Regions from separate parts of the Homo sapiens genome. Here region 2 is linked to region 1. The links are contacts of gene promoters, found by promoter capture Hi-C in human tissues and cell types (Jung and others, 2019). All regions are on one chromosome and are shown on one strand. Each heading gives the region's core, a stretch centred on a gene start or on the middle of the fragment in contact. The rest is flanking DNA. Distances are from core to core; before and after follow the strand shown.

Evidence for each region. The method cuts DNA at HindIII sites, captures the fragments that hold promoters and counts their contacts. A contact is called where the count stands out against the background at its distance.
Region 2: a contact is called between a fragment that was not itself captured here and the fragment with the promoter of SEMA3D in region 1, in 5 of the 25 tissues and cell types used here (IMR-90 fibroblasts, aorta, bladder and 2 more).

Annotation. Positions count from the first base shown.
Region 1 is chr7:85,184,629-85,191,754 of GRCh38, reverse strand. It overlaps SEMA3D (semaphorin 3D), which reads left to right and starts at 4,699. Exons shown (of 19, transcript NM_001384900.1): 1 at 4,699-5,077. RefSeq lists a silencer at 4,828-4,887. The HindIII fragment of the contact is 9,968 bases long and covers 702-7,126 here.
Region 2 is chr7:85,807,669-85,814,794 of GRCh38, reverse strand. No RefSeq gene overlaps it. Among named protein-coding and RNA genes, the nearest start is that of LINC00972, 390 kb to the right of the region's middle. The HindIII fragment of the contact is 4,236 bases long and covers 824-5,059 here.

The sequences.
Region 1 (7,126 bases), core at 3,450-5,949:
ATGACCTTGAACAAAGCAGAAGTGTTGGAATGCCTTCCTGCTGTCTGTATGGACCTGCTCTTGCCAGTTACTGCACAAAGAAATAGTTTAATTCCACTTGGAATACAGGTATGTCTGGGTTTCAGGAAATAATAGAGTACTGTTGATTAATTGTGAACCAGAACAAATAAGCCACAAGAGGGCATATTTTTCTTTATTTCGTCACTCATACACAAATAAGGCTTGCCTCAGCTGGGTATCACAGGAATTCCCTCCTCAACCTCATTTTCTTAGAAGAATACACTGTATCTAAAACATGCTGTAAGGGTAGAATGGTGGTAGTATGAAAGTATTTTTAAAAAGAAAACTTAAAGATGATTTTTTATATTGTGCATAGGAAAGTTGTTTATTTTTCCTTAAAATCCTTCCTTGGGGATTGTTTATTGATATAAGTACATTGTTACAAATCAAACACAAAAAGCCATTTATCTGACTAAATTATCCCAATCTGCAACAACCATATAGACTCCTATATCAGGCGTGGAAAACCGTTCCAAATTCTAGTGAATGTTGGTAGTCAAGAAGGATTTTCTTTTCTGAAGTCTCAGGATTTGGGCCAAAGAGGCTGGACTGTGTTTTTATTTTTATTTTGAAGCACATTCCTGCTGAACTTAATTATTCACCACACCCCAACCCAGCTAAGTAAATATAGCCTTAAGATTCTGGCTTGGACAGTTTTGAAAAATAGCTGATTTTTTTTTCTTTTCTTTTTTTAAGAAAAGTCTCTATAGCAGGGTGAAATATTCTACAGAGGGCATCAAGTCAGAAGTCATAAGGAGCTGAGTGATAACTATGTCTTCCTTGGCCCTGGTTTCCTTGTGTCTAACATGAGGGATAGAAGGTTTTGAGGTGTCTTCTGACTATGAATGTTTATGATTATTTATGATTTTATAAGAGTTTAAAACTTAAAAGTATGAAGCAAAGTTTGGACAGTTTTACATACCAATTAACTAAAGATAAACTGTTTTCTGTCTTTATCTGATGATGAGAAGCAGGGATGCATTTACTTCTGAGAGTTCTATGTATTATAATTAATACAGAAATAAAAGATGAAAGTCAGGTGTGTTTTTTTCCCCACCATTAAACACATCAGATGATTTTATAATGTAAATATCTAATGATCCAGTGATGAGTGTATTGCTACGATCAAATGAAATAGATGGAAAAAAATACCTGGAGTTTATAAGAAGAAAATAGCTAATAGAAGATAAGGGGCTGGGTGAGCTGCTTTAAACTCATGCACTCACTTGTTCCAACTAGATGTAACTTAACATACACGCCGATTTTCTTGGATGAGGATAACAACATTTCTTATCAGTCAGTGCTGATAAGGTGATATATGAGAAAACGTTTATAAGGTGATATTTATTATAAGACAGAGAGGTTTTCTGAATGACTAAGGTATGACTAGTTTTAGAGAAGTAAACATTAAAATGACATGCTTTTTAACACAATTTTTCTTGTTTGCCTCTGTGTATAAACTTTGAGGTCTCCTTCATCAATAATTTTCTTTCAAATTCACCAAATTTTCATTTGATTTGTGAATATAAAACTGTTCAGAGAGAACTAGGATTGTAGATTTTGTTGGTTTTAGTATCTTCTGCTGAGAGGACAGCCAAATCTTCTGCTAGATTTAAGCTCTGGACCCAGTAATTACCTTTCTCCTGTCTTCTGTTCAGAGGTAGCTATATGTGGAATTGGAGAAGCCTACAATATGTCTATTCTACCCTAACCCATCCCTGCTGCCTTCTCCCATGGCTCTCAACATAGATGGATGATTACTGAAATTCTACAATTAGAATTTTATTCTTTGGATTTGTTTGGCATTAAATGTGATCCTTTGAGAAATAGTGTATTTCATATTGCCTAACACATATTACTACCATAAAATGAAAATTACTTACTCATATTATATTTGTGAGCCCAAATAGAGATGGGTGAGGAGTAGTATGTCTCAGAATAGCCTAGATTCTCAAGGCACACAATTTATTTATTCAATAATGTTTCCAAGAACATGAAAGTTATTTGTTTTCTTTCCTTTTTCTTTTTGTTTGTATTTTTCCCCTTGGACTGAAACAGGCATACAAGCAACAATTAGGTGGTTTTAACTGATGATATACACATCGCTTTCAGTGAAATTAAGGCTCACTCGTTAAATCTTGAATAGTCACCCTTGAAGACAAACTAAACTGCACAATACACCTTGTATTTTAGCAAAACTTTTTGTAAAATATACTTTTTTTCCCACTGGGTTTTATTTTAAGAATTTAGATAGGGTATTAGCCCTATAGGACAGAATACCAAATTGCTTTTGATGAAAGTAGATCTCAAACTCTTAGAAAGGGTTGTTAAAACTATCTTGGTGGGACCCTATACAGTTATTAGAAATTCAGAAATAAATCCAGTGACTGAATATTAACATTATTTCTACTGTTTTTATTAACTCGTTTAACACACAAATATTTGTTAAGCACCTAACACATTCAAGACATTCAGGGAAGCAGCCTGAAGATTACGGAGCCATGGACACAGCTGAGGCCATTCATCACATTGGGCAACATATTAACAGTTGATTCCATCTGCTTTGTGCTCAGAGTCATTAAAAGGAAGGAAAGCACAGAATTCACGTTCCAGATGTTGTTTTCTCATGATATGTTCAGGATACTCTGGTAAATTCTGTCTAAATTTGAAGTCTGAGCATCTCAAACTAAATCAGTACAATACAATGTCACAGGCATTGTATTAGAGGCTGAAGAAACAAAGACACAAAACAGCCAACACTTTTGTATGGGATGCAGACACATGCATAACTAATTATAATATAAAGTGAAAAGAGCTTATTATAGTAGTGAAATCAAAGTGCTTTGGGAAAACAGGAGGGAGTGATTAATTCTGTAAGGGCTTTATGGAAAGTATTGAATGGTAGCAAAGGAAGGTGTCATTTGGTTTAAGCATATTAAGCTACAACTTAAAAGAGAAAGGAGGAAAATGGGAAATCCAAAGTTAACCACAATTCTAGTTAAACACAAAATTCTGGCCAATAAACTGACAAAATTATTTAAAAGTTTAAAAATAGAGATTTTCTAAAAATCAAAAACTACTTACTATAAACCCACCATATACGGGAGAAAAAAAGAGATATTTTATTTGCACAATGACATTGCAATTTGCATGGAAGTGCAATGACATATACAAATGAAAATAATATAAACACATAGAAACATACAATAAACAATTGCATGACTATGTACAGAATGAGTGGTATAACATTAAATATAAAGCATTCAGAAAAAAAATAAAAGTTGCTATAGTTTGAAATAGTCTACGAGGATTTAAAATTTTTTTCTCTATCCAAAGAGGGTATTTATGGGGTTGATTGGTTGTGAGTCCAAACCAAGGTTATAGAGATGGGGCAGCATGAGACACAAGAAAGAGCCTTGGTCAGATTTGAGAAACCTGAGCCTTTCCTTAGCCTGACTCTGCCATCAACCATTTATAACTTAAAATGACTCCTTTAGCTTCTGTGGCCCTCAGCCCTCTGCCACAGATAAAAGGTCAAATGAAGAATGTCTTCCACCCCTTTCAGTTATTCCATTACTGCATTTGTCTGTTCACCATCTCCAAATCAAGATATCTCTTGTTACTTGCTAAGGAAGCTTTGGGACCCTACACCTTGTGCTCTTAAATCAAGCTGACAAATGCAGGATCCCGTGGCTGCTTGCTTTCCATGTCTCTACCTCATGTCAGATTTATGTTTGGGACTAAGGGCAAGGTGTGTGACTATAAACCTGGATATCCCATCACAAAGGATTTACCATGCAGCTAAAAATGCCTAACGTACAGGGCTCACCAAATGCACAGGCCTTTTTAATGTCCCTGACGGTGGCCTCATGAACTCTCATTGTCATATATTTTTGCAGAATCTGTAGAAGTGAGATATTTCTGCATTACTTTTGCTTAAAGAGGATCCTCTATTCCAATTGCATAGGATCCAGGTTCATCAAAACTTAGATCTTCTCGTCATTATATACTTCTAAGTTCCTACTGTGTGAATAAGGGGTGCAAAAATCTAAAAAACTCCCGAAGACAAGGATATGAGGCACACCTCTTTGTAGGTCTGGCGTAAGGGAAAGAGGAAGAAAGGATTACATTCTACTCGTTTTTATCTCTCCCTGTTTGGTCTTAATCGGGTGCCAGCCCCTTAACGGAGGGTTGATCCCTGTTCCTCATCCCTATGCCTGCCTTGTCAAGGCCATTAACCGTGGATTGAGGTTTTACATAGTGGAACGCAGGTACTGTTTTGTGGGATTAGCATTTTTAGGACGGTGTTTGTGGTCACTCTCCCTGTTTCTTCCTCATGGGGTCCCTTAACAGGTTTTATGGTATAGAGAAGGAACTAAAGAAGTCCCCAAGTCACCCAGAAGGAAGATCAGACGTTAGAGGTTGCTTTACACATAGGGTGCCCTGTCCTGATAAACATCCGTCAGCGCTTGGCCAGGGCTACCTCTAAATCCACGCTGCTGGCAGCCTCCGCGCAGCAGGGATGAACTTCTGCACGCTTGGGAGTTCTGGCGTGCGCAGTGGAAGGAGGGGGCGAGGGCTGGGGGAGGAGATCGGAAGGGGAAAGGTAATCCCCGGCGTTTTCAGCATCCTCTTTTTAGAAAGACTGAGTCTCTCCCAGGACAGCTGCTGCGGTCACACCACAAACTTAAAAGCCGCCCTCCTGTTTGGAGCGTGCCTTTCCTCGCCACCCTCTCCTCCCCAAAGCTCCAGCTGGTGCCTTGCTCTCCGCCTGTCCTAGCGCGGCTCTCGGGGGAGGCAGCAGCGCCCCCTGCCTCCCGGCCTGGCCCCTGCGGCCGCAGCTTCCCGGCTCTGCCAGGGCTGCCGGCGGCTCCGCTTGCTCAGCCAGGGCTGCGGCTCAGAGGAACGCGCGCCGGTGCCCCGGGTTGCCGCGCCGCTGGACCTCAGCCTGCATCCCGTTCCCCTCTCCCTGAAAAGGCACCAGGAAAAGAGAGAGGGAGAGAAGAGTTCACAGCAGGTAAGTCTGGTTTGGGTCACCTGCTACTCCAGTGGGAGGGTGTGCTGGAGACCGCGGTGCTAAGCGGGGATAGCCGGGATTTGGGGGTGGCTGTGGGTCCGAAGTGGAGGACGAGCATGGTTTGGGAGATAAGGAACCGTCCTGAGACAGAGAAGGCTCCCGGGAGCGGACAGAGAGTGGGCGAAATCGGTGCGCAGTAATCGCGGCGCCAGCTTCAGCGCGGCCCCTGGGGCGCAGTCCCACCCCGCCTCAGCAGCTGCGGAGCCTTCTGACGAGCCTCCGCCTGGCAGCACTGCACAAAGTTTTCCTCCTGAGACGCGTCCAGGAACTTTGCTCTCTCCCTGGCTTCCTGGTTCCCCCACCACCCCTCCTGGTCTGGGCAGCAGAGAGCGTCTATGAATGTGTCCCCGGCTTCCGCAGGCTGCAGGTTCATTTGGAGACGCTTTAGTCGGGAACATCCGGGGAGTACTTGACCAAAGGGCATCTGCGCCCTCGCTCGCTCCTTTCCTTGTTGGTCTGGGAGAAGGGAAAGGGGCAAGGAAGAAGGAAGGGAAGCGTGGTGGTTTTTGTTGTAGCGTTTTGGAAGAGGAATGGGCGACGCCTTTTTCTTCGCCGGGGAATCGCGACGTTCCGTCTGATGGAAGTGTGCATCCTTTTAGATTTAGAGGGAAAGTTGGAGTCAAACAGCAGCCACAAAGCTGGCTGTCTGAAATGTGGTTAAGGCAAAACACTCGGGGGATCTCTTTGTAGTAGTGGGCTTGGCTCGCTTTGGAAAGGCCGGATTTGACTCGTGCTGGGCATTTAACCAGGAGTGCGGTCCCCAGGGTGTTTCCTCCCGGCTTCTGCCCAACGAGCCTGGAGTTAATGCGTTAATGGGCTACCCTGGTAGCGCACGGGCCGTTTTCGGCACTGTTTCTCCTTCTCTGATGACTCGAGTTCAACCTCCTGGGCTGAGTTGCTTTGCCTCCGTCACAGTGCAAGGAGGGAAGTTGACAGGAGGAGGAGACGCCGCGCTGTGGCAGGGAGCTTTGGGATCCAGGGGACTGGAAGAGAGCCGCGCGCCAGCAGCTGGGGCCGCTGGTGTCCGGGATTCCGAGTTATGGGGACAGGAGTTAAATAGCCGAACTTTCAGCGATTTCGCCTCGAGCGAAGCGGTAATAAAAGGCAAGCTTCTGTGCGTGGACTCTTATTTCATCACCAAAACCCCACCACTTTCCGTTTAGCTTAGTGCTATTTGCACAAGCAAAAGAAGAGGGGAGAAGACCTAAACTTTCCGGTTTAGCCTAAAAAGGGTTCTCCTGCATGTGTGCGCTAGCGGGGGATGGCGGGGTGGGGGCGCGCAGAGACGAGGGGGAGGATCTCCTAACAGAGAGGGAAGGGTTGAGGCGGAGGTAGAGGAGAGGTCTGAGACATCTCCTGGGTCTGGTGCTGCTGCTATTGTGTAACCATGGCAACCGCGGGGGCAGGGGTGGTCAGAGCCTTCCCAGTTCTGCACGTGGAAAGAAAAATGTGAAGGGCAGAGAAGGGAGAGAGCCACATGTCATCACTCCAGTGATGCCTTGCCTTCTCCTTTTTGTTCTCCTTTTCCTTCTCCTTTTCCTTCTCCTTTTCCTTCTTCTCTGAGGCCAGATAGCAAGGAGGATGAGCAAGAAGACACACATGTCATCACTCCAATGATGCCCTCCCTTCTCCTTTTCCTTCTCCGAGGCCAGACAGCAAGGAGGATGAGCAAGAAGATCGGGGTTGGGAGTGATCAGCCCCAGCTGGCCACTGCTTTAACCCAGTCGGGTCTTAGAGTCTCTGAGACTCGCCCCAGCGGATAAGACGGGTCAGGGGTGCCATCGCTGACAGGCGCAAAGTGATGGCCCTGGTCAGGGAGATGGGCAATGACCTTGGCTCTTGGAAGGGAAAGGCCAGGAAATACAGGAAGGTGATGTGGGACGAGATAAGAGTAGGGTCAAGGGCTGACAGACAGTAAAACAGTACTGATTCGAATTGCCAAAATTTCCAATGGAATTTGCCCAATTGTGAAATGGAAAGTTCCTAGAG
Region 2 (7,126 bases), core at 1,692-4,191, 620 kb before region 1:
GATAACCGTTTCTTTAAAAGCTAACTAATAACATTAGAATAAGTGTGAAGAATATTAAAATTCTTTTATGAAAACTTGAAACTGATGCTTGTAATAAGTTGCTTTAACTGGCTAAGTTAATTTCCACTTTTATTTTTTATAATGTGTTTTACCAGATTGATGGGAAATACTAACTTTTTTTTTTTTTTTTTGAGACAGAGTCTTGCTCTGTCGCCCAGGCTGGAGTGTAGTGGCACCATCTCGACTCACTACAACCTCCGCCTCCCGTGTTCAAGTGATTCTCCTGCCTCTGCCTCCTGAGTAGCTGGGATTACAGGCACCCACCATCATGCCTGGCTAATTTGTGTATTTTTGTAGAGATGCAGTTTCAACATGTTGGTCAGGCTGGTCTTGAAATCCTGACCTCAGGTGATCTGCCCACCTCGGCCTCCCAAAGTGCCGGGATTACAGGTGCGAGCCACCACGCCTGGCTGGGAAATACTAACTTTTAAATCTCACAATTCTCATCTGATAAATAAACTCATGCTATCATTACCCATCCATAATTTTATAATAAATACAACGTTTAAATTATATACACTTTTCTCTGTATCAGTTGTGAAGTAAGTTTCGCTAGGGTGCAGTTAACAAAAATACCTCCTCGTCTCTCCTACAGGTATTCTCATCTTTGTCATCAGTAAGAAAATTCCTCTATGTGGGTTAGTGGCAAACTTTTTAGTATAAAACTCCTTTGAGATGAGGGTGCCAAGGAAATATAAGCAGGAGCCCTTTGATGAGGTTTTAGAAAAAGCACTGTAATTTCTTGTAATTTAGTTGAGGGGGCATCACTTTACTGCTCTTGTCCCATTCTCATTCTAGCTCCCTCAAACAAGACTGGACAAGGCTATAGCAGCCGTGTTGAGATCATAATATATAAGGCTCAGAAAAGCACAGAGACTTGGTCCTAATATCCTGAACCACTGAAAAAATGACAGAAACTGCCCACTGTGAACTTGATATGGTTTGGCTCTGCGCCCCCACCCAATTTTCATGTCAAATTGTAATTCCCAATGTTGGGGCAGGGACCTGGTAGGACATGATTAGATCATGATGGCAGATGTCCCCCTTGCTGTTCTCATGATAGTGAGTTCTCACAATATCTGGTTGTTTAAAAGTGTGTAGCACCTTCCACTTTGCTCTCTCTCCCCTGCTTCATCATGTAAAGATGTGCCTGCTTCCCCTTCGCCTTCCGCCATGATTGTAAGTCTCCTGAGGCTGCTCCAGCCATGCTTCCTGGGCAGCCTGTGAAAGAGTGAGTCAATTAAACCTCTTTTTTTCCATAAATTACCCAGACTCAGGTATGTCTTTATAGCAGTGTGAGAATGGACTAATACAGGGCTTCTTGTTATAGGAGAAAAATAAACCTTTTAATGTGTAGGCTATTGCAATTAGGTTTTTGAAACTAGCAGTCAACTACAGTTTTTTATGTAAATGTGTGATGATCCAAATATGAATGAAAATAATACACTTCCTCTAGGCAATATCTGACATTAGATAATGAACAATTCCTATCACCCAAGTCAAATCTTGAAAGCTACTTGTTTATGTTATTTATTAACTTTGTTTCTGTTGCCTACATGTCACATGCAATGCCATTATATCTTTAGTATATTTGTTGCTTATGTTTTCCCCATATTTTATTTCAGAAAAAAAAATCATATAAAATCTTTCGTGAATTTACTCATGATAAACTGTGTTTCATGCCTCAGAACAAATAAAACTGTTTCTTCCTAGATCAATTTTCTATTATTGGCTTTTGTATATCATACACAGGTGTGCTATTTGGAAGGCACTAGAGGAATTCAGCATGTGTTATATTGTAGTAACGGTGTGAATGTCTTCATTAAAAGGTTGCCGTTGCTAATAGAGATGGATGAGTTGGAGGAAAAGCTTACTTTATTTTAATCTATCAACTGGTCCTATATTTAATGGCAACTTTAGGAGCAACACTTATTTGTAAAGCCAAATGGAATTGTTGACGGTGATAATTTCCTTGATGAGTGAGAAAATGCTTTGTGTGTGTGTGTGTGTGTGTGTGTGTGTGTGTGTTTTAAATAAGATAATTTGGCACATTCTACCAACCACTGATTAATATAATATCCCACAAAGAGTCATGGTTGGGAGATTTTTCTGTCTTTTATTTATAATTTCTCTTGGGAGTAAGTTACGTAACATTTGTTAATGATTACCTCAGATCACAGTAAGATTAAAAGAAATTATAGGCTTATTTCTCTTTTTCTTCCATAGACAGGCTGGGCTACTTTCTTTCAAAATGTCTATAGTCATTGATGAAAACTCTTAACATTAAATCTCAAAATGCTTTTTGAGAATTTACACTTGTTTGAGATACTCTATATCTTGTGTAAAATAAAAATTACATGGATTTGTTTCAGCCTCAATACACATTATAGAAGAAATATTGTAACAGGGGTTGATTATCTTGAAGCAGAAACATAAAGAGCCATAGATTTAGTTTGAATTCTGATTACCACATATGAAATTTTGAGCATAATACTTAAATATTTATAATATACAAAATACATTTTAAAGTGGCTCTTAGGACTTACTTGGTGCTCAAATGCAGATTAGGGTGTCTTCAATCCTAGCTTTAAATTCTGGCTCTATTTCTCAATAATCTGTAGGGCATGGACAAGACTGTTTTCTCATGAGTAAAATTCAGCTCTAAAGGGTATTAACTATTGTTCTATAGAGTTATTGTTAGTTTTAGATTAAATAATAGATTTAAGGAACTTAGTACTATAGATACCACTTATTAAAATCCAATCTATGCAAATTATATTTATCAATAAACAATATTTTATAACTACAAACTACTTGATACTTTAAATAAGTGCTTTAAGTGTACTATTTGTGTTAAACTTATACGTCTATTAAGTAGAAAATAAATACTTTTATTATCCTCATATTTAGAGAGAAGGAAACTGGAGAACATTAGCTGCAGTATCAGGTTAATGACACAGTGTCAAATGATCCGATTCTAGTATTACAGGCTCTTGATCCTCTTAAAATTACCTTCACAATCTTGCCTTAATGGTCTTAATGGGAATGCTCTTCTCATCCATCTTCTGAATGTCATAAAATTCCAGGACTCAAAAAGCCATACAGTATTGTCTTATTTAAAAAATAAATGACCAAAATCTCATTATTTATTGTGGTTCCCTACTTCCAGCTTATTCATACTCCAAACTCTACCCCCAACATAGCTTCTACAAGGTCTGTGGGCACAAAAATTTCTGGTACTCTCCGTGACGTTCTAGTTCTTTCAATCTTGGAATACATTTTAAAAATAAGGAACAACAAAGTGAAACAAAACACTTTTCTACTTACAATGATATATTTGGTATTAGATTTTCCTCATTTGTGAAAGTTGGGCAATTAGACGAAAGAGGGAGGACAAATGAGCTGTTTGCTGTTTTATTAAGCCTATTGTATAGCTATCACTTGACTATATATAAAAGAATGTATAAAATGGATTCACATTTGGTATGTCAGACATCACTTCAAAAATCCATATGGCCATATAATATTTATATAATGCATCAATATGTTTTCTAATCACATTAGCTATAAAGTTACATATAAAAGTGATTCAATCTTTGTGTAAAAATTTAAAACAAATCAGAAAAAGTAGAACAATCTAGCAGAAAATGATAGATGTTGCTTTTATATATTTACCTCTTCTTCTTAAATTTGTAATTAAAATTTATAGGTATCTATGTGGACTCTTTGAGAAATGTTTTAATATAGAGATAGCTATTTCTCCAACTATTAAAACAACAGTCATGTGAAAAATATAAGGAAATTATCTTATTGATAGGACTGAGTGAAATCAGTATGAAATGTTGCCAATGGAATGCAATGCAAAATTTTTAATTAAATTTTATTATTCAAAAATTTGTTTTAAGGGATATCTAGATACATTGAGCTCCTGTGTATCAGGAACTAAAAAAAAAATTTGGCAGGTGAAGAATAAGTCCTGGAGCCAACCCTTGGTATGAATTTCTTAACTACATACCTAATCAGAATATTTCAGAGCTGGAAGAATCTTCAATGGTAATCTTCTCCATAATGTAATACAGAATACTGAACCCCAGAAATGATAAATGATTTGTACAAAGTCATACACTCGAAACAGAATAGGTTGTCTGAAACTCTGTTGTGTGTTGATAATTGCGATTTGAATGTACGTGGACTCACAGGACTTAAGAAAGCTTCTGCCTTCTTAAGTCAATTGCTTACAGTTATAGAAAGAAATAATATGGCTAAATAGTACATTTCTTTTCATCTCCCAGTATAATATGTTTCTTAGACTATTTTCAAGGTAATTTAACCTAATGGCCACCACCACTAATGTCAATAACTTTTAGCAAAACTTTATATAAACCTTGATTCAAACTTTTATAAGGCTACAAAGTCTGTTTTTTTTGAAACCATTTTCTTCATTTTTTAATTTTTGAACCACTTTTTAATTAATTTAATATTGAATCTTTCATTACTTAGCAACATCCTTCAAACTAAATAAAAGCAAAGGGAAAAAAAGAAGCAAAGTAAAAGCTTTCAAATAAAAAGAAAGCATTTTTAACATAACAAGTTCTAAATTCAAAGAATTGTGTGTTATTCTTTAGGTAAGTTCTTAAAGTACCTCTTTAAACAACACTGATTATTACCACACCTAGAGGCTCAGTTTTCAAAAATAAAATATCACAATGAAAACTTCTGGAAGGAACTTCATAAGGGAGTCCGTCTACCTAACCTAAAAACAGATCTTGGGAAACAAAATTAGAAGGTGTGAAAAACATTTTGAACTCTATTTCTTACACCAAAATGCCAAATAGTGGCACTACAAGTGGAAAAAGAACACCAGCTATATTTAATATCTTTCATATTAAAAAAAAAGTTGGGCATGGAAATAAAGCAATTACAGATAATTGTAACTTTCTAAACTACATAGTTTGACCCAAATTTTCCAATCTCTATTCTAGAATTTCTTTTAAAAATTAATATAGAGGCTGAGAGAAGTTATTCAGCCAATCCACCTACAAGTTAAGTATAAGTTGAAAAGCAAAAGTATCAAGTATTATTCTACATTTTTCCAAATATGGACAAAACCTACTCTAGCATCTCTCAGATTTACACTTCTATGTTTTCCCATGTTTCTTTTACAGTTTGAGAAAAGGGGGTCAAGAACACTGATATCCATGAAGCAGCATCATTTTTTTTCTGTATGTGTGTATGTGTGTTATTAGCAGTCACTCTGCTAATAAAGACATACCAGAGACTGGGTAATTTATAAAGGAATGTTTAATTGACTCACAGTTCTACATGGCTGGGGAGGTGTCACCACCATGGAAGAAGGCAAATGAAGAGCAAAGTCAAGTCTCTGGTGCAAGCTGTGGTGGATCTATCATCCTGGGGTCTGGAGGAAAGTGGCCTTCTTCTCAAAGCTTCACTAGGCAGTGCCTGACTCGGGACTTTGTGTGAGGGCTCCCACCCCATGTTCCCCTTCTGCACTGCCCTAGCAAAAGTTCTCCATGAGGACCCTGCACCTGCATCAAACTTTTGCCTGGACATCCAGGTGTTTCCATACATCTTGTGAAATTTAGTCAGAGGTTCCCAAACCTTAATTCTTGACTTCTGTGCACCTGGAGGTTCAACACCATGTGAAAGCTGCCAAGGATGGGGCATGCACACTTTGAGGCCACAGCCTGAGCTGTACCTTGGCCCCTTTTAGTCACAGCTGGAGCAGCTGGGACACAGGGAACCAAGTCCCTAAGCTGCACAGAGCAGGGGGGCCCTGGCCCTAGCCCAGGAAGCCATTTTTTTATCCTAGACCTCTGGACCTGTGATGGGAGGAGCTGCTGTGAGGGTCTCTGACATGCCCTGGAGACATTTCCCCCATTGTCTTGGCGATTAACATTTGGCTCCTTGTTACTTATGCAAATTTCTGCAGCTGGCTGGAATTTCTGCTCAGAATATGGATTTTTATTTTCTAATGCATCATTAGGCTGCAAATTTCCCAAATTTTTATGCTCTGCTTCTTCTTGAATGCTTCGCCACTTAGAAAAATTTTCCCCCAGATACCCTAAATCATCTCTCTCAACTTCAAAGTCGACAGACATCTAGGGCAGGGGCAAAATACAGCCAATCTCTTTGCATAGCAAGAGTGACCTTTACTTCATTTCCCAACAAGTTCCTCATCACCATCTGAGACCACCTCAGCCTGGACCTTATTGTCCATATCACTATCAGCATTTTGGTCAAAGCCATTCAATAAATCTCTAGGAAGTTCCAAACTTTCCCACATTTTCCTGTCATATTCTGAGCCCTCCAAACTGTTCCAACTTCTGCCTGTTACCCAGTTCCAAAGTTGCTTCCACATTTTTGGGTATCTTTACAGCAGCACCCCACTCTACCAGTACCAATTTACTGTATTGGTATGTTCTCATGCTGCTAATTAAGACATACCTGAGCCTGGGTAATTTATAAAGGAAAGGGGTTTAATTAACTGACAGTTCTATATGGCTGGGAGGCCTCACAATCATAGCAGAAGGCAAATGAGGAGCAAAGTCAAATCTTGTATGGTGGCAGGCAAGAGAGAGCTTGTGTAGGGGAACTTCACTTTATAAAACCATCAGATCTCGGGAGACTTAGTCACTATCATGAGAACAGCATGGGAAAGACCCATCTCCCTGATTCAATTAACTTCCACTGAGTCCCTTTCATGACACATGGGAAAGACCCATCCCCCTGATTCAACTACCTTCCACTGAGTCCCTTTCATGACACATGGGAATTCTGTGAGCTACAATTCAAGATGAGATTTGGGTGGGAACACAGCCAAATCATATCAATATGAGTACTCACATCGAGCAATTTTTTTGCATCCATATATAATACTCTAACTGGAAATTTTACCTTGAATCATCACTTATTTTTTGCAAATCATTGATATTTATTTTAATTAGTCTATAGGTACTAGGTTACAAACTTTAGACTTTATTTTGCAAGGAGAGATTTAAGGAGGAATAAATATCCTAATTTTCAATTTAAAAATCACTGTGGTATC